Regions from separate parts of the Homo sapiens genome. Here region 1 is linked to region 2. Evidence: promoter capture Hi-C in 16 types of primary human blood cells and fetal thymus (Javierre and others, 2016). All regions are on one chromosome and are shown on one strand. The core of a region is centred on a gene start or on the middle of the fragment in contact, and the rest is flanking DNA. Distances in the headings are between cores, read along the strand shown. Region 1 holds the start of FOXN4 (forkhead box N4). Region 2 holds the start of ACACB (acetyl-CoA carboxylase beta).

What was found. The method cuts DNA at HindIII sites, captures the fragments that hold promoters and counts their contacts. A CHiCAGO score of 5 or more calls a contact.
Region 1: a contact is called between the fragment with the promoter of FOXN4 here and the fragment with the promoter of ACACB in region 2, in 13 of 17 cell types (endothelial precursors, megakaryocytes, M1 macrophages and 10 more). The highest score is 11.0, in endothelial precursors.

Annotation. Positions count from the first base shown.
Region 1 is chr12:109,307,512-109,311,466 of GRCh38, forward strand. FOXN4 (forkhead box N4) reads right to left here and starts at 1,773. Exons shown (of 10, transcript NM_213596.3): 1 at 1,608-1,773; 2 at 725-813. The coding sequence starts at 810. It also overlaps a transcript of MYO1H not described here. The HindIII fragment of the contact is 5,817 bases long and covers 1-3,955 here.
Region 2 is chr12:109,114,560-109,118,791 of GRCh38, forward strand. It overlaps ACACB (acetyl-CoA carboxylase beta), which reads left to right and starts at 2,028. Exons shown (of 53, transcript NM_001093.4): 1 at 2,028-2,145. LOC105369974 (a long non-coding RNA gene) reads right to left here. Exons shown (of 3, transcript XR_945332.3): 3 at 4,095-4,225. The HindIII fragment of the contact is 11,769 bases long and covers 1-4,232 here.

The DNA of each region.
Region 1 (3,955 bases), core at 523-3,022, 190 kb after region 2:
CCCCAACTGTAAAAAAAATAGGGGGTGCGCAGACTGGTTGACCTCCTAAAGGCCTTTTTGGCTATGATGTTTGAAGACAAAAAAAGACAGAAGGGCTCTGAAGGCTTCCATGCATCCTCTCAGTTGTACCTTGCTTCACCCTGTTTCAAGGCCTCAGTTTCCATCTAATTTACTCTTCAAACACATGAGGCCTAGAAGAAACCTTAAGATCATCTACTTCAACAAGATCAATTAAATGATGAGGAAGTGAGGCCCAGGGCAAAGGACTTGCTGAATGTCACACAGCCTGGCTGAGAACTTAGCATATCTGACTACTTTCTTAACATCTGTGGAGGATAGAACCCAATTCCTCCCAGAAGGTTTTTTTTTGGCAGGGGGTGGGGGAGCATTTCCCACAGCCCCCATTAAGGCCACTGGAGGGGAAGCAGTAGCTGCTATTGTCATCTTAACATTCACCAGGATGCCCAAACAGTATCAAATGCAGAAACGGACCTCTTTTGGAGGGGACAAGAGACAGCAGGCATTTCGTGGTCCCACTGGGCCAGGTTGTGGCCCAGACACCCTTAGCAAGACCAACATTGAAATCAAGACTTTCCAGCTCTCCCGCAAAAATCACAGAATTGAACATAACAATAGTTCTTGGGCAGTTTCAGAAACCATAAACAGCATACAAACACTTTGAGCAATTAAAAAATATATAGTTTGTTATTGTTGGAGCCCTCACCTGTATTCCTGTGGAGAGGGGTGGTGATTTTGCCCTGAGTTTCGAATAATTCCTGACATTATGGATGAGGTGTCACTTTCTATCATCTCCTTGGGAAAAGACAAGCAGAAAACAAAGCTCCCATCAGCGACGATATGGACAGGGCAGAAACCCACAGTTTTCCCGCAATTCAGAAAGATGGAGCACAATCAACTCACAGAACACTTTTTTTTTCTTTAAAGAAAAAAGTTCTAGAGGATTCCTGGGCATCTCAGGTCACTTTCCCAGGGCAATTCTACAGCGTTTTAGAAACAAATGAAGAGAATGAAATGAAATTCCCGGTTCTTTCGAATTAATGGGGGAAGAGCAAGGGAAGCTCTAGAATCCAAATGTCAAACCTGGAAAATGTGGACTCACAAAATAGGAATCAGAAAAACGATTTCCTTCCAAGCCTTATATTTTCAACCTCAGTTTGGTTATGATCACTTTCAAAATAAGGGGCAGCTGGATGTGACATGTGTATTTCTCTGGGGGAACAAATTCCCACTTGCAAAGGGAATAATCCCCGCAAGCTCCTGCCCTGAAATGCCTTCAGAAATGCCACAAGCCCTTACTGGAAAACCAATCCAACCACCCACGTCCCCGCAACACACAAACACTGCCTTAAAAAAATAATAAAAATATTTGAGTTCCCTAAGTTTCTCAAACTCCAAGCCTGAACCAACATAAAAGCCCACCAAAGCCTCAGTTCCGCCCCCAAAGCCATCGAAGGATTCCCAGGAAGGAGGAAAAGGGAGCAGAGGGAGGCGGCCCCGCAGCCCCTGCGCCCGGGTCTCTACCCTGGAAATGCAATGCCCGGCATTGCCCGGGAGGAGGGAGCAAAGCCGACCCTGCAAGGCGGTACCTGGAGCCGATCCTCGCGGGGCCGCCGCTGCCGGCGCTCCGGGGGTGGGCAGGGGTTCCGGAGGGGGGCTCCCTCGCGCTCGCCCCTCGCGTTCCGCAATTTGGCCGCCGTCGCAGCTCGAACCGTTTTTAAATTTCCCTCTCTGGAGCTGTCCAGCTCAGAGCATGCGCAGTAGCCGTGCGGGGGGCTTTTCCCCAAGGGTCAGTTACAGGGCAGGGTCAAGGGGATTGCAGCGGGCGTTTCCCAGCAGCCGCGAGCCTTGCACGCCCCGGGGTTCTGGGGGGGGGGTGTGTGTGAGGGGGGCGGGGCGGAGGAGTGCAGGGGTAGGGACCCCTCTTCAAACTTTGCCAACAGTGACAACAACTGCATGCCCGAGAGCATGCGTTGAGGAGCAGTGGGAGGGTGATTTCGGCCAAGGGAATTAAGTTGCAAAAGGAGGCTGGGTGCATTAAAACTTGCAATCCCGCCTGGGGCAAAGGACGTGGGCGGGCGGAGAGATCTGTTGCAACCCCCTCTCTCCCCCAAAGTGGAGGACGGGCCGGGAGGCAGAGACGGGGCCCCAGGTGGACGCGGATTCGGTCCACCTGTCCCTTTAAGAAAGTTGCGCCCGCGCGGGCTGGCGCGCAGCGGGAGGGGGCTGCGGAGCGGGGCGCGGGGCGCCTCCACCTGCTGGGGCCGCGAGGGGGGGCCCGGGCCCAGCGCGGCGGCGAGGCGAGGAGGGCTCCCCGGGACTGCGCGCTGCGCCCCCCTGTCCCGCGAGGAGGGTGAGCCCGCCCGGAGCGAGTGCGGCGGGGCTCGGCGGCCCCGGCAGCCGCGACGACGGCGACGGCGGTGGCGGTGGCGGTGGCGGCGGCGGCGGAGGCGGAGGCTGCGGCGTTCGGGGTACGGCGCCGCGAGCCCAGCGCAGCCGTTGGGGGCAGTGGCCCGCGTGTGCAACCGCGCTCCCTCCCTTCCCCGCCGCCCGGCCCGCGCCGCCGCTGCCCCGCCCCGCCTGGAGCCAGCCGCGGGAAAGGTGGCGCGGACCGCGGACGGCGGCGGGGCCCAGAGCGGGCAGAGGTCTCCACAGGCCCCTTAGGAGGCTTGGATGAGTTTGGTCCCCTGGAAAGTTTGCGTTTCTGGCGCCCTAACTCTCAAGCCTCCGTTGCAGTAATTGCCACGGCAGCAACGATATTAGGCACGGCTACCCCCATTCTTTCGTTACTTATTGACGCCTGCTTCTGGGTTCTTCTTCGCATCAGCCCTTGATGACATAGCATGGTCCTCCTTTTGCATGGGGGGAACCCAAAGCCCCGAGCGGCAGTGAGTGGGTCGGCGGCGCACGGGCAGAGCGCGGGCTCCCGCACCTCCCCAGCTCGCGTACTGCACGTGGACCTCTGCGCCGCCCCCACCGAGTGAGGCTCAGGCACCCGAAGCGTCTGGAGTTGTTTTGAGGCTGTCCTCGCGTTATCTACTTCGCAGCAGGCAGGGGACCAGTGTCCCCGCACCTGTGACTGTTTTTTTTTTTTTAAACCCAGTGTTTAAGTTCAGGAAGAACTCAGGGCTCCCCTGGACTGGGTGTGCCTGGATTTCAAGTTCTATTCAGGTGGGCTGTGACCTTGGCACTGGTCCATGTCCTCACAAATGGTTTTCTGGTAGCACCTGGACGTCCTTCCTCCTTTCTTCTCTGCCAGGAGTAAATAGATCAGCTTTCATTCTCTAGGGAGGAAAAAGATGTAGTTTACAGATGTTAGTTGAGGTCACAGTCATGAAACTTTCTCAGTTTTCATCTCCCGCGACCAGCATGTATTTAAAATGTGTGTTTTGACCGGTTAGGAAAGTGGTTTACATAGTTTATGTTGCTTTGAATGTCCCTGAATGACATATAATTAATTCACCAGTAAAGTTGTAAGCATTCAAAGCATTTGGGTTTATTTCTGTTAATCCTTCTTGGAGTTGTAAGGAAACGTGGGTGACTTGACAACCTCCTTGTGAGGTCACAGTCATTTTCATTAAGGTGTAATTTTATATCTTCAGAATGGTTTGGAAAGAAATTGTCTCTTCTGAAAGCTGATGGATTCAGTAAAGTTTTTAAAATAAAAGGCATCCAGTCTGTGAGTTCTGTAGACTCATGAAATATGGAAAAGAAAAGCAAGAATCCTTCACTAAAAGACAGCCCCTCCCACTAAAAAGGAGTGGGGTGGGAGGTTGAGGGTGTTGGGGAGGCCATTTAATTAAAAAATTGAGATTTTTGAGTTCACTGCTTCAGGCCTGGTTGGTAAAAATATTGCCACTAAAACACCTACTGCTACAAAACCCAGGGAACTTAACAAAAACACTGCTTTCGCTTTGTTAGATCAATCTGTTTTTCC
Region 2 (4,232 bases), core at 778-3,277:
TTGGGCCAGGTACAGTGGCTCATACCTGTAATCCCAGTGCTTTAGGAGGCAAGGCAAGAAGATCGCTTTAGGCCAGGAGTTCAAGACCAACTTGGGCAACATAATGAGACCTTGTCTTTAAAAAAAAAAAATTTTTTTTTTTTTAATTAGCCAGGGGTGGTGTGTGCCTGTAGTTCTAGCTACTTGGGAAGCTGAGGCAGGAGGATCATTTGAGCCCAGGAGTTCGAGGCTGCAGTGAGCTATGATCATGCCACTGCACTCCATCCAGCCTGGGCAACAGAGCAAGATCCTATTTCTAAAACAAAACAAAACAAAACAAAAAATGTAACTTGATACCTGTGACTTTCTGAAACTAACAGCTGTTTGAAGAAATATATTTCTATTACCGTTCTTGTGTTTGATGGAAAGAGTTTATGAATAACTTTGGTTTCAAGCCTTCCAATTATATTCTGGAAAATACCTGTGTCTTAAAGAGATAGTGTCTAGGGAGAACTGAATCACTGCAGAGTTCTTCACCTGTATGTGTGGGTATGTCTAGTCTTTTTGCAAGTAATGAATTTCATTAGAAAGATATTAAGTGCTTGTCATGAGCAAGCCCCTGTGCCAGAAACTCAATATAAATCATTTCATTTTCTCACCCATATGGTGAAGTAGTTGATGAGGACACTGAAGCTCAGCCATTTGCTCAAAGTCATGGCTAATGGAGGGAGGATTCAAACCCACATCAGCTTGATTTCAAAGCCTAATAGTCCTGCCACTGTCAACACCCTGCCTAGATCATGATTATTTGGAATCACTGGGAAAGAATTTTTTTTTCATGAAGTTAGAAGCCTAAGAATTTTTTTCAATGGAATTTTATAAAAATGTCCTTGAATCACAGATGGCTCTCCCTGGAAACATAGGTTTGTTTGAGAGTCACCTCTTTTATTGTCTTAATAAATAGACTAAGAGCCATCACAAGGGCTACTGTGGCTAGAGAACATATGACTCGGGCCGGGCATTGTGCAGGCATTTGACCTGCATTCCTTCACCCCGGTTCCTGTAACATGTACCTGGTGCTGTGGGGTTACAGCTGATAATGCTGAGGTTTCCAGAGCACATGCTTCCAAGTCCAGTGGAGAAAATCCCAAGAAGTCCAATATTCAATGACTGTTCCTTATTGCAAAATAAGCCCAGAAACAAAGTAGCTGTGAACAGGCTGCACCAGCCCCAGCAGCAATTTCCATTTAAACCATTTTGCACAGATCCCGTGCTCAGCGCTCTCGCCAGTTTCTCCACTTGCTGTTTAGTAAGGCCATCATTGTTGGCAGGAAGTGGGTTCCACCTTCCCTGTTGCCTGAGCACAATGTGCTCCTATGTGGTCTCCACTTTCCTGCTGCCTAGTTGGCTGGGCTTCTCCAGCTGGGCCTTGGAGGCGACCTTTGTCCCACATGCCAGCCCTCCCCACGTTGCAGAACACTATGTAACTGCAGCGTGTGCTGAATTTCCTCTTCTGTGCTCAACCCTAGCAAGAGCCAGTCAACCCTGAATGAGAATGTGGCAATGGAGCTGTTTTTTTCTTTTATCCCCAAGTCACAAGAAATTGGAAACATTCCATTAAGTGGCGTGATTTGAGAGGGTTTCGCCAAATCTTTTCAGGGGAGAGAAGCCAGGTGACCTGATAGCGATCACCTTCCCATTCACGGTTTTCAATGGGGGCTTGTTTCTCAAATGACCAACACCTGTAGGCAGTTAATTTTCAGCATGTCACAGGAGGGCCCAGATGACTTTCTGCCTACTGCTTACGACAACATGGACTTTAGATGCCTCATGGCTTCAACAGCTAAGAATTATGAAATAAAGCGAGTTATGGGATTAAAAGGCAGATAGCAGAACTCTCCCAGGAGTAGCCAGGGCTGCACAAGTGGTTTGACGTGGGATCTTTCTCATCTTTGCCCCGGGTTGTTGCTGCTTTGAAGGTTAAGTGCTCCAGGGATATTTTTAAACAGCAGGGGCTGATTAATCTAAAAGTGACATTTGCAGTCCCCAGAGTAAGCAGCTAGCAGGCTTAGATTCAGGCCCTCAGCAAACAAGGAACCTGGAAAATGTAACCCTGAATGCACGGTGGGGAGGACATGGCAAGAGAAAAGCGGCAGGAATAAAGTGGTAAGTCAGCTCGCCCCTCCCCGGGGTCCGGACCATTCTGCCAACGTCCAGGTAAATTCGAACCCAATGTATAGTGAGAGCAGACCCTGTCTGAAGGCATGCACTTGGGGTCCCCGGGGAAAAACGACTCCCGTCATGTTTGAAGGAAGCTAATCAGAAGAGCTCGAAATGTAACGCAGATGAAAGAGAAGGGCCTTTCTTTGCTTCTATAAATGGTGGTGTGGATCCCTGGACATGCTCCCATATAAGTTCCACAACGTTTTATAAACAATTCTGTTTTTTGCCTCCAAAGCTACTGTCTTAAGGAATAGTATTCTGTTTCTGTTTCCTCAAATGGTTGTTCTTTTTTTTTTTTTTTTTTTTTTTAAAGCAGACTAAGGCTGGGCACGGTGGCTCATGCCACCCAGCACCTTGGGAGGCAGAGGCAGGTGGATCACTTGAGGTCAGGAGTTCGAGACCAGCCTGGCCAACATGGCGAAACCCCATCTGTACTAAACACATAAAAATTAGCCAGATGTGGTGATGGGCACCTGTAATCCCAGCTACTTGGGAGGCTGAGGCAGGAGAATCGCTTGAACCCAGGAGGTGGGGGTTGCAGTGAGCTAAAATTGCGCCACTGCATTCCAGCCTGACTGACAGAGCAAGACTCTGTCTCAAAAAAAAAAAAAAAGAAAAGAAAAAGAAAAAAAGGAGACTAAGAGTAAAGCGTTTGTAGTGGTCCTATATCCTATATTTCTAGGAAGACATGACTTTCTTTCAATGTTGAAAAAATGCATTCCAAAATAATATGCAAGTTAAAAAGTCACTCAGCACCGTGCAAAAGTCTCCTTGCTGTTATTCCTGTCTAACCCTCCTCCTCCAGGTAGCCACTGTGCACATTTTGGTATAAACCCCCCAGACCTTTTATTCTGTACACTCACACTGTACACAACTCTCTCCCTCATGTCTATTGTGATTACTTTTATTTTTTAATATCAATGGGCATCCATATAGGTTGGGTGACCAACCATCCCACTTTGCCCAGGACCGGGGAATTCCCGGGACATGGGACTTGCAATTTAAAAACTGAAAGGTGAAGATATTATTATTATCATTATTATTTGAGATGGAGTGCTCACTGCAAGCTCCGCCTCCTGGGTTCACGCCATTCTCCTGCCTCAGCCTCCCAAGTAGCTGGGACTACAGGCACCCACTACCACGCCCGGCTAATTTTTTTTGTATTTTTAGTAGAGACAGGGTTTCACTGTGTTAGCCAGGATGGTCTCGATCTCCTGACCTCAAGTGATCCGCCCGCCTCGGCCTCCCAGAGTGCTGGGATTACAGGCATGAGCCACCGCGCCTGGCCAAAGATATCATTTTATAAATTGCATGTTTCTGCTAATAGTGACATGGAGTTCTTTACAAGATTTCTTTTTATGACTTCTCCAAGTTTTAAGTGGAAAGACCCAGCCAATCCTAATTCATGTGATTTAGAGATGAAAATATCTCTAATCTGTAACTTTCTTTCAGAAGCTCTTAAGAGTTTTATTTGCTCCTGCTCAGGTGTTGTGTAAACTCGCTCATACTTTCAACACCTTTAGGTCTGAGACAGAAATTTGAGTATTACATTACATGAGATACCCAGTCTTCATGGGGAAATAAACATTTTAATCTTTTGAAATGGAGGTTTCCTTGAAGTCTTATCCCAGTAGAAACTTTGACCTTGTTCTTTTTTTTTTTTTTTTTTTGAGACAGAGTCTCGTCCTGTCACCCAGGCTGGAGTGCGATGGCACAATCTCAGCTCACTGCAACCCCTGCCTCCCAGGTTCAAGCAATTCCTCAGTCTCAGTCTCCCGAGTAGCTGGGATTGCAGGCAAGCACTACCACGCCCAGCTAATTTTTGTATTTTTAGTAGAGATGGGGTTTTGCCATGTTGGCCAGGCTGGTCTCGAACTCCTGACCTCAAGTGATCTGCTCACCTTGGCCTCCCAAAGTGCTGGGATTACGGGCATGAGCCACTGCACCCGGCCTGGAATACCTTGTTCTCATGCTTCCTCTGAATTTGTGATTCAGTGACTTGTTACTTCAAAGTAGAGTTCACCTGTACC